3 separate regions of the Homo sapiens genome follow, and all the other regions are linked to region 1. The links are contacts of gene promoters, found by promoter capture Hi-C in blood cells and fetal thymus (Javierre and others, 2016). All regions are on one chromosome and are shown on one strand. Each heading gives the region's core, a stretch centred on a gene start or on the middle of the fragment in contact. The rest is flanking DNA. Distances are from core to core; before and after follow the strand shown.

The links. Contacts are between HindIII fragments. The CHiCAGO score rates a contact against its expected background, and 5 or more counts as called.
Region 2: a contact is called between the fragment with the promoter of PLEKHB1 here and the fragment with the promoter of RELT in region 1, in 1 of 17 cell types (M0 macrophages). The highest score is 6.0, in M0 macrophages.
Region 3: a fragment that was not itself captured here is called in contact with the fragment with the promoter of RELT in region 1 in 6 of 17 cell types (M1 macrophages, M0 macrophages, megakaryocytes and 3 more); the score reaches 9.8 in M1 macrophages.

Annotation. Positions count from the first base shown.
Region 1 is chr11:73,374,381-73,378,794 of GRCh38, reverse strand. RELT (RELT TNF receptor) reads right to left here and starts at 2,396. Exons shown (of 11, transcript NM_152222.2): 1 at 2,296-2,396. RefSeq lists an enhancer at 1,417-1,711 and silencers at 1,877-1,956, 2,047-2,336, 2,367-2,676. The HindIII fragment of the contact is 14,706 bases long and covers 1-4,414 here.
Region 2 is chr11:73,643,478-73,647,830 of GRCh38, reverse strand. It overlaps PLEKHB1 (pleckstrin homology domain containing B1), which reads right to left and starts at 1,250. Exons shown (of 8, transcript NM_021200.3): 1 at 1,205-1,250. The coding sequence starts at 1,222. RefSeq lists enhancers at 1-131, 767-1,685 and a silencer at 172-391. The HindIII fragment of the contact is 13,421 bases long and covers 1-4,353 here.
Region 3 is chr11:73,661,979-73,666,761 of GRCh38, reverse strand. It overlaps PLEKHB1 (pleckstrin homology domain containing B1), which reads right to left. Exons shown (of 8, transcript NM_021200.3): 8 at 3,943-4,783. Among named protein-coding and RNA genes, the nearest start is that of PLEKHB1, 18 kb to the right of the region's middle. The HindIII fragment of the contact is 1,069 bases long and covers 1,846-2,914 here.

The sequences.
Region 1 (4,414 bases), core at 1,147-3,646:
GGCAGGGGACAGGACTTTCTGGTGATGTCTGGTTGGGAGTGAAGTCTGGGGAGGAACAGGAAGACCATGTAACCCACCCATCCCCAGTGTTCCAGACATGTGTGCACACACACACATCATACTTAGAACTCACAATGTAATGCCCTGGCTAGGCCACGCCTACTAGCCCAAGTTTGAGAGACAGAAGTCCAGGAAAGCCATGAGCAGTTATTAGGAAGGTGGGTGATCCTCTCTCCCAGCATCTCACTGGTCTCTGGGGTCAGAAGACCTGAATTCCAGTCCTGGCACTGTCCTGACTCTGTATGACCTTGGCCAAGTCACTTTGCTTCTCTGATCCTCAGTTCCTTTCTCTGAAACACAGTCACTACATCTCAGAATCACTGCGAAGATTCAACAAGACAGAACACCATGAAGTGTTCAGAACAGTGCCTGACACTGTCCCCCACCCTGTCCCCCACCCCTAGAATGTAATCAGCATTTTCAGAGGACGACAGCAGAAGACAGAACTTCCAGATTCTACAGCAAGTGCCACCCTCTCCTAGACTAGGGAGCTCAGCTTCCACCCCACCCTGCATGAACCCCACAGACCTTCATACGGGAGAAGGGGCCTCAGAAGGGTCTTGCCCAGATGGCGAAAGGGTACCGCTCCAGCTCTCCAGCAAGAACTTAGCCTCCCAGACCAGAGACCACTCCTGGGGAACAAGTCTCTCCCCACTCTCCCCCAACCCAAGGAACTGAAGAAAGGACACCCAGGCAGAGAAGTGAATGTCTATGGATTTGGGGATCCATATTGTCTATGGATCCATTTCGTGACAGAGGACCAGGAAGCCTTTGGGTGGGAGGCTAACGTTTCCTTGACCAGTTTTGGAGAAGGCTGTGCTTCCAACCCTATCAGTAGCCCCTGAGTGCAGCCCCTGGGCCGCTGTGTCCCCAGGAGAAGCCTGCCCCCACCCCCCACTGCAGTCTTTCTGCCTGAAGGGAAGGGAGAACACAGGCAGTTGACCCAAAACAATAGAGGATCCCAAAGTGATGATTCACAGTCCATTCAAAGCCCAGCACCTCAGTGTGCAGATGGGGAGACTGAGGCCTGCGCGGGGGAGGGGGGCGGGGGGGTCTGAGAACAAGATTGTGTCCGGGTCCGCTGAGAATACAGATTACACAGGGGCAGAACTTTGCCAGGTGTAGGGACTTCGATGCGTGAGTGTGTGGATGCAGGTGGGCGGGGGGAAGCTGAGACTACCACAGGGCCCCTACCCTGCTGCCATCTGGGCCACCCCACCAGATGTTGCCCAGCCTCGGCTTTCTCCCTCAGCCAGGGCCTATCCCTCAGGGTCCATCTCCTCACCAAGCTGAACTCCTGAGGGGTGCCCTCGTGGGGACAGTCCTGGAGACCCTTGTCTCCTGGCTCCCCAACTTCCTCATCGCCCCACATCTGCCGGAAGGTGTCCTAGGTCCGGTCCCTCCTCCTCCTGCCTCTTACTCATCATCACCCTAGGCGCAGACACACACACACACACACACACACTGACACCACTTGACCCCACACGCACACCATGGCGCCAGCGAGCTCGGCTCGTTCTCAGTCACTTGGGCTCCTCTCCCTCTATTTCACACTCACAGTAACGGGTGGCCCTGGCCCTGCGCCGGTCACGCCCCAAGCCACGCACTTCGTGACCCCAGTGACCCCGGGTCTTTCCCTCACACAACACACGCACACACGCTGCCTGTCTCCCACACACAGAGCCCCTCTGTGTCGCCCGCTCGGCCCGGCGTCACCGCCCAGTGTCCCAGCCACACGTTCGCCCGGCCAGGCCGCCTCACGCGCCGTGTCACCCACAGTCACGGGCTGACACCATCCAGACCCCCCCTTGGCCGCCCCGCGCCGCAGCCGCGCCGAGGCGCCGCCGTCCAGCCCGCACCACAACCTGGTCTCGGTCCAAGTTTCCCGGGCCGGGGACCGCTCCGGGCCCCGCCGGCCCCTCACACCGCAAGTTCCGCTGCTTCCCCGCGCGCCCCCCGACAGCCACCACGCAGGGCCGGCCCGGAGTCGCGGCCGGAGGACCTGCAGGTCACGGGGCTCGGAGACTGGCGGTGGCCGGTGCGCGGAAGGCGCCGGGACAGGACGCGAGGCGGGAGGAGTGGGGTGGGGGGGCGCGCGGCCGGGCTGCCGCATCCGCCGAGCCCGCGAACTTCCTCAGAGACACGGGGAGGCAGGGGGCGCCACTAGGGTCCGTATCCCGCTGGCCCGGCCGCGGAGAGCAGACTCTGGATGGGCGCTCCGCGCGCCCTCCTTACCTGGCTGCGCCGCGGCAGCTCCAGCTCGGCTCCCCGTTCGACTCGGCGCCGCGGCCCGGCTCGGCGAGCGCCCGGACAGCCGCGCAGCCTGCGCGCCTTTTGAATGAATCGCCGGCTGGGCCGGGAAGGTGCGCAGACCCGCCCCCGCGCGTCACGGCCGCTCCGCCCCCGACGTCAGAGCGCGGTCTGCGCCCCGCGCCCGACTCACCCCGAGCCGCGGAGGGGCTCGCCGCTCTGCCGCTGGGCGGTGCTGCTCTACGTCGCCCTCTCTCGCGCCCCTGGGAACTGCAGGGGGCTGCGCGGGACTGGGCGGCGGTGCCCAGAGGGCCTCTTGTATCCGCCTCTTCAAGGCTCTGAACCAAGCAAGGAGTTGTGCGAAGCAAGATAAAGAGACTGGAGACTGAGATACTCCTCTGGGTCCTCTCAGCATTGCCAGTGTAACTAGAGCCACCTCTGCCCCTTTCTGGGCTTCATCTTCCTCCTGCCAGTTGGTGGCCAGGAAGAATAACCTCACTTTGCTTTGTTGACGAGGCCCAGGCCCAACCCTGGAAACCCTCACCTAGTTGGCGAAAAGGCCTGGTGAAGGTGAGTCTATAAAGGAAGCCCACACGGTGGGCTTCGGCACATCCTTCAAGGCCTAGTGAAATCCTCCAGGAGGCGTCTCCTGCCTCCACTCCCCTACTCCCCGCACCACTTCTCTGTGCCAGGGTAGTTAGTTTCCCTCCAGCAGGACAGGTGACTCAGTGCCCCCCTCCCTACTACAGCCATCCCACCCTGCCAGTTTCCAATGCCAGTCATCACAAACTCCAGGCAGTATTCACACTGTATTCCGACTCCGAATCGTGTCCCCTGGAGTTGTGCTACAGGGTGTGCCAGGACTGGAGGGAGCAGCTCAGTGGCCCGTTCCCCCTCTCAGTACTATTCAGGGGATCTCAGGCGGTCCTCCTGGGACAGTAGGGCTGATGGGAGACTGAGACACCAGGGAGGACCTAGTGCTGGGCCAGAGGCCTGGCTGGGGTCAGGATAATCACAGCCCATGACAGAGATGGAGAAAGGAAGGTAAATAAGTCAGCTGGGGATAGATGGCTGGGGGTGGGGTTCTAAACAGTCATAGAATCTGAACCCAGGGGCTAGGAGACGGAAAAGGTCAGGTCCCCAGGGTCCAGGAGATTCCAGGAGGCGAACTGGACACCGCATGGGGAGGGGAGCAGGGGATGAGTTTTCATTTCCCTGGGTCATGCTCAGGTTGTGGGGGAAGGGCATAAGGAGCTACAGGTCATTGATGTCAGGATCATGACATCAGCACCCTCATATGTCAATGGAGACCTCCAGGGCTGGGGCAGGGGTTCTTCCAGGGTCCCACATCCCAGCCTACGGAAGGCCAGAGCATCCAGAATGCCTCCACTCCTGGAAATGTTTTCTTTGTAAGGGGACCATCTACACCCCAGCTCTAGGTTCTAGAGTTCAAATGGTGGCAATTTCAGGTGTCGTCACTCAATAAACCAAATGGGGAAGGCCAGGTGTAGTGGTCACACCTGTAATCCTAGCACCTTGGGAGGCTGAGTTGGGAGGATCACTTAGCCCAGGAGTTCGAGACCAGCCTGGGCAACATGATGAAGCCCAGTCTCTACAAAAATATGTGGGAGAATCACTTGAGCCCAGGAAGTTGAGACTGCAGTGAGCCGCGATCGTGCCACTGCACTCCAGCCTAGGTGAGAGAGTGAGACCTTGTCTCAATCAATAAACTAAATGGGGAAATGCTTTTTGGAGCACTGGCTATTAATCAGACATCCCAGAGAGGGTCCAGGCCCCTCTCTACCACCAGCTCTCTGTGAGGTTTTCATCAAATCCACCCCCAACTCAGTTTCCTCATCTGAAAACTGGGGTGCCAGACATGTTGCCTGAAGTTCTCTGTGGGAGGCGGCTACCTGGCTGCCCTGGCAGCAGCTCCATAGAGTAGGTCTCCTGGGGCCACAGCCCAAACACTTCTCGCTCCTGCAACCCCCAGGTTAGGAGGGAGCCTAATTATTATTTACTGCTGGGTGGATGCGCCAGCTCCTCCTGCAGCCAGCTCTGACCCTGAAACCACTGTGACGTGGGCTCCTCCCTGAGAGTCTAC
Region 2 (4,353 bases), core at 1-2,500, 270 kb before region 1:
CCGCTCCCTCCCCTCTCCACGGTCTTGACACAGATCAGACAAGAGGGTCAGGTGCAGACTCCTTTTCCAGCCCCTCCCCTTGATGCACCCACCTTGTCTACACTTGTTGCGGATGTTGCTGCCTAAGCGGCCGCTACTCGATGCTGCTGCCACCCAACCCGCTGCGCCTGCGCTTTGTGTGCCCCGGAGAGCCTGGGGCATTTCTCTCCTCCCGCAGCGCCTGAGAGCCCAGCTGCCCCCGGGCCCCGCCCTCCGGACCTGCCCACCCCAGGGAGGGGGAGTGACGTGAAGAGATGCTGACCCGAGGCGTACTGGGACTTGTAGTCTACCCCTGTAGAGCTGGGCAGAAGCAGCCCCGCCTGCAATTTTACTTTTCTATTAAGACATTTGTTCACTCATTTATCATGAAATACTTTTTCTTAAGAATCATTGAACTCAGTTCCTAGAAAAAAAGAAAAAGTAAAGTTGCAAGGAGAAGCCAAGCTCCTAGTTTTGCATGTTTTTTTGATGCTTCCCCTTTCCATCCCCAGCTTCCAGTCTAGTGAGGGAGATTACATGGAAACACACAATTGGAGCACAAGGTGTGATTTAACAATGGAAAAGATGAGCCTGACTTTTCTCAAGGGGTTCAGGAAGGCTTCCCAGAGGAGGCTGAAAGGGGCCTTGGAGGATGAGGGGCAGTTTCCTAGGCGACCCGAAATTTCCCCTATGAATACTGTCAGGATGTTGAAGAGTGCCCAGCATTTCCGTGTGTCTAGAACATAAAGCGCAGGGGTGGGGAGGGCATCGGGAGTGTCAGGCGATAGAGCTGCAGGGTTTGGAAAGAAATAGCACAGAGGCCTTGCATGACAGGCGGAGAGCTTGGATGTTAGGACGCAGTGACTGGAGCTGGGGGTGGGAGTTTCAAGATGAGGAGTGAGGTGTGTGATTAGGGGGTCGGAAAGGCCCCTCTAGGGCACAGTGAAGAATGGACTGGCGGGAGCCCACCTGGAGAAAGGAAGACTTTCTGTATCTATCACCTCGGACTGTGATCATTTCCTTCAATAGCTCAGCCCCGCAAACCCTCACCTACCAGCAGCCACAGGATGTCATTCAGAGACCAGAGGATGTCAGGGCCTAAAAGACTTCTGTCCCGTCCCCTATGTGGCAAGGGTGCCCACCCTGCCCTGGGCCCTTCCTCCTGTCCCAGAGAACTCTTCCTTACCGGGGCTGCAGGGCTCATGGTTCCTGGGTGGCCAGGGCAGCATTTCCCAGAAGGCTCCCGCAGCGGGGCATTTCCCTGAGCGCCTTAGAGATAAGGGGATCAGGAAGGTGCTACCAAGTGGGAGGCTGGAGGGGGAGGCAAGGAGGGAGCGCACAGATCCCAAGGAAGGTCGCCCTCTTTCTCCAGGCTCCTCCCAGCCTTTCCAACTGATGGCTCTGACCCTAGGTTCACTAGACAAGTCATCCCTGATTCAGAAGTGGTCTTGGCTCAGCATCGCCGAGGTTCCCGGAGTGGAATCGGGGCGAGGTTGCGGGGGCAGGACAGGAACCGGGCTGGTCCTCCTCCCTAGGTTGGGGGCGGGGCTACATCTTCATTCTTTGGCCTGGCAGGACAGCGCCCATCACCCCAGTCCTGGCTGCGCAGTCTGGCTCTTTAAGCCTTCCTCTCTTGCTCCTGAGTCTCTGTAATCCTGACCTCGAGCTACCCTCGCTCCTCGGCCCTTTGTGCGGTGCGTGCCCTGCTGAGGGATTCGCCATGGCCAATCCTATTAACCATTGAGTTCATCCCCTCTTAGCCGACTCAAGAACCAGCTCTCCCATACCGCGTTTTCATCTCTGTGCCTTTAACTCACTCTCTGTCTGGTTCCTGGAACGTCCCAGTCCCAGCTTCTCCTAGCTAAATTTTCCACCTCCACAGTGGAAGGAAGAAAGGAAGCAGTGGGAGGGGGAAAGAGGCAAGGAAAGAGATATGGAAGGAAGGAAAGACAGAAGGAGAAAAGAAGGGAGGGGAAAGACGGGAAGGCAGGTAGGTAGGGCTGCAGCTGGCCTCGGAGGATCTGCGCCTGGGTCCTGCCCCGACCCAGCCTCTCTCCAGCTCTCCCTGCTCCCCTCCCCGATGGGCAGTGGGGCATCCTTCATGTTGAGGGGCGGGGACGGTGCAATCATCTCCTAGATTTCATTCTCTGGATTTAGCAACCAGATGAAAAAGGAAGGTTCTCCAGCAGCAGTGGAGACTTCAGGGGAAGACTCTCCCCTACCTCCCAAAGAGCGGGCACTATGACGAAAAAAAGAGGAAAGGACGTGGCAAACTAAAACCACAGACACTACTACCGAATCTAAACGTAGCCGGACTTGGCCCATGTCTCTAAAAGCTGGTCAGTGACCCTCTTTGAGAAGCCAATAAGGAAGTGTAGACTGTCCTCAGGAAAAAATCTGCGTATAATTCCTGGGAGTTCATAGACCTCTGAAGCCATGATAGTCATGGTTGGATTGTTTTTAATTTCCAGAGCTGTGTAGATGGGAGGAGAGTGTAGATTGACGAGTGAGAGGTATGACAGTATGTCAGGAATTCCAGCCGCAGCAGTCCTGGCTGTGAGAGACTTTGTTTGTTCAATCAACTAAAACTTATTGAGACTAATAAGCCAACAAGTAACTTTTACATTTCTTTGTGGCTATGGTGCACAGAACCATTGGCAGAGAGGAAAAGATTTTGCCATTTCAAGTGTCCCTGGTGAATGAACAGCCCACAGATAATACATTGTTTAGGAAATAGTGGACTGGCTCATCAAATTCAAATTTACTACTTACATTTTCTAGAGAGTATAATATAATGAGAATAATTTATATTATCTTTATTTTAAAAAACTTGAAGTTTATATCAAGATGCAATTTGAGCAAAAGTAAAAGTGCTTATGAAAACATTTTAAATGGCCGGGCGCTGTGGCTCATGCCTGTAATCCCAGCACTTTGGGAGGCCAAGGCGGGCAGATCACCTGAGATCGGGAGTTCGAGACCAGCCTGACCAATATGGAGAAACCCCATCTCTACTAAAAATACAAAATTAGCTGGGTGTGGTGGCACATGCCTGTAATCCCAGCTACTAGGGAGGCTGAGGCGGGAGAATTGCTTGAACCGGGAGGCAGAGATTGTGGTGAGCCGAGATTTCACCACTGCACTCCAACCTGGACAACAAGAGCTAAACTCCGTCTCAAAAAAAAAAAAAAAAAAAAAGAAAAGAAAACACTTTAAAGTGATAATTTTACGCTTTTTTTTGTCTTTTTTTTTTTTTCCTTTTTCTGGAGAACGGGGTCTCGCCATATTGCCCAGGCAGGTCTCGAACTCCTGGGCTCAAGCTATCCTCCCGCCTCTTGCCTCCCTGAGAGCGGGATTACAGGCGTGAGCCACTGCGCCCGGCCAAAGTGATAATTTTAGTGAGATGTAATTCACCTACCATAAAATTCACCCTTTTAAAGTAAAAAATTCAGTGGGTATTTTTTTTTTTTTTTTTGATGGAGTCTTGCCCTGTCACCAGGCTGGAGTGCAGTGGTGTGATCTCGGCTCACTGCAACCTCCGCCTCACAGGTTCAAGTGATTCTCCTGCCTCAGCCTCCCGAGTAGCTAGGACTACAAGCGTGCACCACCATGCCCAGCTAATTTTTGTATTTTTAGAGATGGAGTTTCACCATGTTGGCCAGGATGGTCTCGATCTCTTGAGCTCGTGATCTGCCCGCCTCGGCCTCCCAAAGTGCTGGGATTACAGGTGTGAGCCACCGCACCTGGCCTTCAGAACATTTTTATCACCCTAAAAAGAAACCCTAGGCCAGACATGGTAGTTCACGCCTGTAATTCCAGCACTTTGGGAGGCCAAGGGTGGCGGATCACCTGAGGTCAGGAGTTCGAGACCAGCCTGTCCAACATGGTGAGACCCTGTCTCTACTAAAAATGCAAAAATTAGCTGGGCGTGGTGGCGCGCACCTGTAATCCCAGCTACTCAGGAGGCTGAGGCAGGAGAATCACTTGAACCCGAGAAGCAGAGGTTACAGTGAGCCGAGATCACACCATTGCACTCCAGCCTGGCTACAGAGCGAGTCTCCATCTCAAAAAAAAAAAAAAAAAGAAAAGAAAAGAAACCCTATAGTCTTTAGCAGTTACTCCCAATCTGTCTTCCCCCCAAGTCCCTGGCAAAATTAATCTGCTTTCTTTCTGTACAGATTTGCCTATTCTGGCCATTTCATATAAATGGAATCATGGGCCAGGCGCAGTTGGCTCACACCTATAATCCCAGTGATTTGGGAGGTGAAGGCAGGAGGATCTCTTGAGGCCAGGAGTTTGAGGTTATAGTGAGCTGTTACTGCACTGCTGTACTCCAGA
Region 3 (4,783 bases), core at 1,131-3,630, 290 kb before region 1:
CCTCCCGAGTCCAAGCGATTGTACTGCCTCAGCCTCCTCAGTAGCTGGGATTACAGGTGCCTGCCACCACACCCGGCTAATTTTTGTATTTTTAGTAGAGACAGCGTTTCACCAGGTTGGCCAAGCTGGTCTTGAACTCCTGACCTCAAGTGATCCACCTGCCTCAGCCTCCCAAAGTGCTGGGATTACAGACGTGAGCCACCACACCCAGCCAGATGGTGACAATCTGAGAGGACAGAGGCTGACATCTGCTTTGTAGTTGGAACTCTTTCTATATTCAGTATATGTTCCTGCCTAAGCATATCCTGGCCTTAGCTTGTTACCCCTCTCCATCCCCAAGGCTTGTGACCAACCTAGAAAGGGTCAAACCTCAGGGTTCTGTGCTTCAGGTTTAAGGGTGATAGACTGATTGGACCATGATTCTGACAATGAAGTCTCCTGATGACCACTTAAGATATCTGCAAACCTCTGTGGGAAATTCTAAGGTTGGGGAACACTGATCTGAGGTCAGAAGTAAATCTGGGACCCAACCCTGGGAGTTCTCAGGAGGTAGATCTCAACTCCTGAGGAAGGAGGTCTCACAGACTGAGCTATCCCACAAGGGCAGGAAAGGGAAAGGGTAAGAGTACTCCCAGTCCCTATGGGTGGCAGAAAGCAGTAGCATGGTCCCTTTCAGGTGGGGCAAAGGGGAGACAAATCCATTTTAGAGGGCATCGAGGGTCATATCCAGCCAGGTATTCTGAATGTAGGGCTCTAGTTCTGAGACTGAGTCATATACCTGATTTTGGAGAAGTGCTCACTGCCAGGATGCTCAGAGTGCCACAGACCCTTGCTATCTACAGAATCTCCTCTAGTAGGGGCTGATGGAGGCAGGTGGTCTCAGGAATGGATGTGGAGTTGAGCACCCCCAGTGAGCTGGCTATGAGTGGCCAGGCAGTACCTGGGCTGCTCAGACAGTTTGCAGAGATGGTTTTGTCTGGGTTGAGACCATGTTGTCTATGAGAATGAATGTCTGTTTTTGTGTGTGTGAGATCGAACTTCCAGGTTCAACCATGTCCTTCCTTTGCTTCAAATTTTTTGGAGGCATTCCATGGCCTGGAAGTTAGTATATAGTTCAAGCTCCTTCCCTGGCATCCAAGGCCCCTGACGGTTTGACCTTGCTGACCCCCGTTTCCACCCATCACACTGCAGATCCAGCCTCACCCAGAGAACTCTCGGCACTGAGTGCTGCTTTAGTTCTTGTTTCCTCTTCATCTAAGTTAGCAACTCCCACAAGACGATAGTTGGAAGAGCATTTGTCTTTACATCTAGCTTAAGACACTTCCACCCATACCTGAGTTAAGGGCTGCTTTCTCTGTGACCCTACAGCCTCAGGGCTACCAGTTCCCACAGCCCATGTTGTCATAGTCTGTGCCCATGTCTGGGATAGACAGACAGACACACACACACGCACGCACGCACATGCACAAACTCCTTGAATGTAGGGCCCAAATCTCATTCATCTTCCAGTACCCAGCTCTCAGCCCTGTCTGCCAACAAAACTTCTCAGGAAAGCATTTGCTAAAGGAAAAGAGAAGAGATATTTGTGTTATACAGTTGACCTCCTCTCTGGGAATTACTTTCCTGCCAGGTAATGAGCCACACAGGATTTATAGTGCAGAAGCAGTGTGGTGTGGTAGACAAGGTCAAGTGACCTGCATTTGAATCCAGATTCTGACACAGCATGCATGACTTGGACAATCTACTTTCCTTCTCTGCATCTGTTTCTTTGTAGGTAAAATAAGAATAGTAACACCAGGCCCATGGGGTTGTTGCAAAGACCTATGAGATAAAGCAGGGGAAGCTTTGGGCAATGAATGGCAATGTCCCCAGCTCTGTCTGATCTCAAATGCCCTGCCCAGCCAGCTCCCTGATCCTTGTTTAACCCACATTCTTGGGAAAGGACTCTAGATAGCTTGGGCTCTTCCTACATATTGATCTCTAAAAGTCCTGAGACTGTGCCGGAGAGTAAGAGGAAAGGTCATTCCCAGAGCCAAACTCAGAGATGTCCCTGCAGGAGCATGCAGGACACCCTCTAATGAGATGGCGTAATGGGGATGCCACTAAAGGACTGACAGGGTAACTGGGTCCATCTGGGAGAAAATTAAGGCTGAGGCTGGGCTGAAGGTAGTGAGTTATCTCAATTGACTGTTCATAGTCAGTTACAGATCAAACTCTGTTCTCTCTCCCCACTTCTCACTGCTGCAAAGGAAGGGAAGGAAAGGAAAGGGAAGGGGAAGGGGAGGGGGAGGGGGGAGTGGGGGAGGGGAAGGGAAGGAAATGGAAGGGGAAGGGAGGGGGAGGGGGGGAGGGGAAGGGAAGGGAAGGGAGGGGGAAGGGAGGGGAAGGGAGGGGAGGGGAGGAGGAAAGACAAAAATAGAAAAAATTAAGGCTGTGAGGAGGAGAAAGGAGGGGAGCAAAACAAAAGAAAAAATTAAGGCTGAAGTTCCAAAGCATGGACTGGGTCTGATGCACTGCTGGGTCCCCTGAACACAGTACAGGCCTTAGGATACCCAGGGTATGTAACCTCTGACTGCACAAATGCTAACAGACCTTGGTTTTCTCAAGAGGCTCCTCTTGCATCCATGCTTGTCCTTAAGCCGGGGCCACATACTGGACTATGCCCTGTGTTCAGTAGCCTGGCCCAAGAGGTTCCTTATAGTTTGACCTCATCCACCACCTCTCACCATGCGACCTGCTATAGCATGAGACTGGTTCCTGAACTTCAGGGTGCTCTCAAGCCTCTAATGCCTTTGCTCATACCATTTCTTCCATCTGTTCTCTGTGTGGAAAGCTCTCCCAACTTTTTCAGATTGGCAAACTCCTACTCATTTTTCAAGGTTCAAAATAAATTTCCACTTCCTGTCCCAAAGCTTTCCCTAGTTCCCTTGGCAGAGTTGCATGCCTCCTCTTCAGAGCTCCAACTGCACCACGTTCCTCTGTAACTTCATTCAATCATTGCTGTTTTTATACATGTCTCACCTCTAAGTTGGTGTCTCTGGAACTGTGGCTGAGGTGAATACCTGATATTTTTGCCAACCAGCTTTCATCTATTCATCCTACTTCTGGGAACAGTGCCCTGAATTTCCTCTGGGACACCATCCCACCCCTGCTGTAAGCCCTGTTATTTTAGACCATCCGTTTCCAGACCACTGGGGTTGATGCAGGGATGGCCACAGGACCCAATTTAGACTGATGTCTACCAGGCCCAGGACTTTCAGTCATACTGTTAGAGGAAGAGAAATTCTCTTGGTTGGACTTGAACTCAGGAGGGCATTAGCCTGGAGCTGCTGAACATCACTGCAGCTTCCAAATGAGCCAGCCCTGCAGGTGTAAAGATGGAAACAAAGCAAAGTCTAAGTGACACTCTTTGAGCCCCTGGATCACACAGCTCTTGGACTTCTCAGTTATGTGGCTTAACCTTTTCCCTTTGGCTTAAATCAGTTTGAACAGGGAGTTTCTATCTGACAGCCCCAAGAAGCCTGATGCAGGATGATGGTGTTTCCTTTCCTGACCACCTGGTTTTCTATGAGAACAATTCATTGATTCAACTCTAGAAGGATGGGAACCTACTGGAAAAGACTCCAACATGAACAGGATTCTCAGAAAGCAGGCAGGACCTGGCTTGGATCATCCATCAGCTCAGACAACAGAGACTCCAAGGCAGTCCCTCCTCTTGAGCCCTCAGGAATGGTCAACTTCAACCAGCTACCTTAAGTGTAGGGAAAACAAAATCCAGAAAGGTTAAGTGACTTGCCCCAAATGACTCAGCTAATATGCTGTCACCAGTTCCAACTGATCTCAGAATCCACACTCTTTTTCACTAGACCAGTGAAGGCACTAGTAGCTGCTGGATCATGGAGAGGGAAACAGGGCCTTCTGGGGGAACAAAGCAAGCCACAGTTACTGCTAGAGCCAACCAAATCTTTATTAGTCTCGGCAGCAGAACTAATGGAGCCCCCATTTACAGGGGAGCTTTAGTGGGCTAGTCTGGCTACCAGGCAGGGATGTTAGCATTTCTATTGGTGATTGGGATAGAAAGGGGGAAGAGACTGGAAGGGAACCAAAGGGGGAGACTGGTGGACCACCTGAGGGCAGGCACAGATGGGGCTTCCTGGGCTGGTGTAGAGGTGGATCAGGCCCCAGAGGAGAACACTGCCATCTTATTCAGAATGAAGGATGAGACAAAGCCTGAGAGGGTGACAGTCACAGCTACAAAGAGAGGGCCGAGCTCCTGGTGTGAGAGGCATTTCTGGACGGAGGCAGCTTTCTAGGGCTGGAAGTCTCAAATAGAACTCACCTGTTCCCCAACCAGGGGTCCCCAGGTTCAGCTCAATTGTTATCATGGGTACCAGCCAGGAAGCTGTTTGTGGGAAGGATGGGACTTGACTCAGGAGTGTTTTAGGTATGGACATGTGTCAGTATTCACAAAACAGGCAATATATTCATTATAGATGCAATCATGAAACTTCCCTCCAGAGAAGGCTCACATCTCCCCTTTCACCTAGGAAGCTCCTTAGCTTGAAGGCCCACCACGGTCTGATCCCAGCCTCCACCCCAGCCCAAATGAACTCCCATTTAATTCCTTGGACATGCCATGACGTTCACGGCTCTGCATACTTGCCAATAACTGTTCTTCCAGCCTACCTGTCTTGCTCCCTGCCCCACCTGTCCTTGTCAAAGGACTGATAACTCTTCAGCTTTGTCAAGTCCTTGTTTACTCCTGTTCTCCCCACCAGGACTC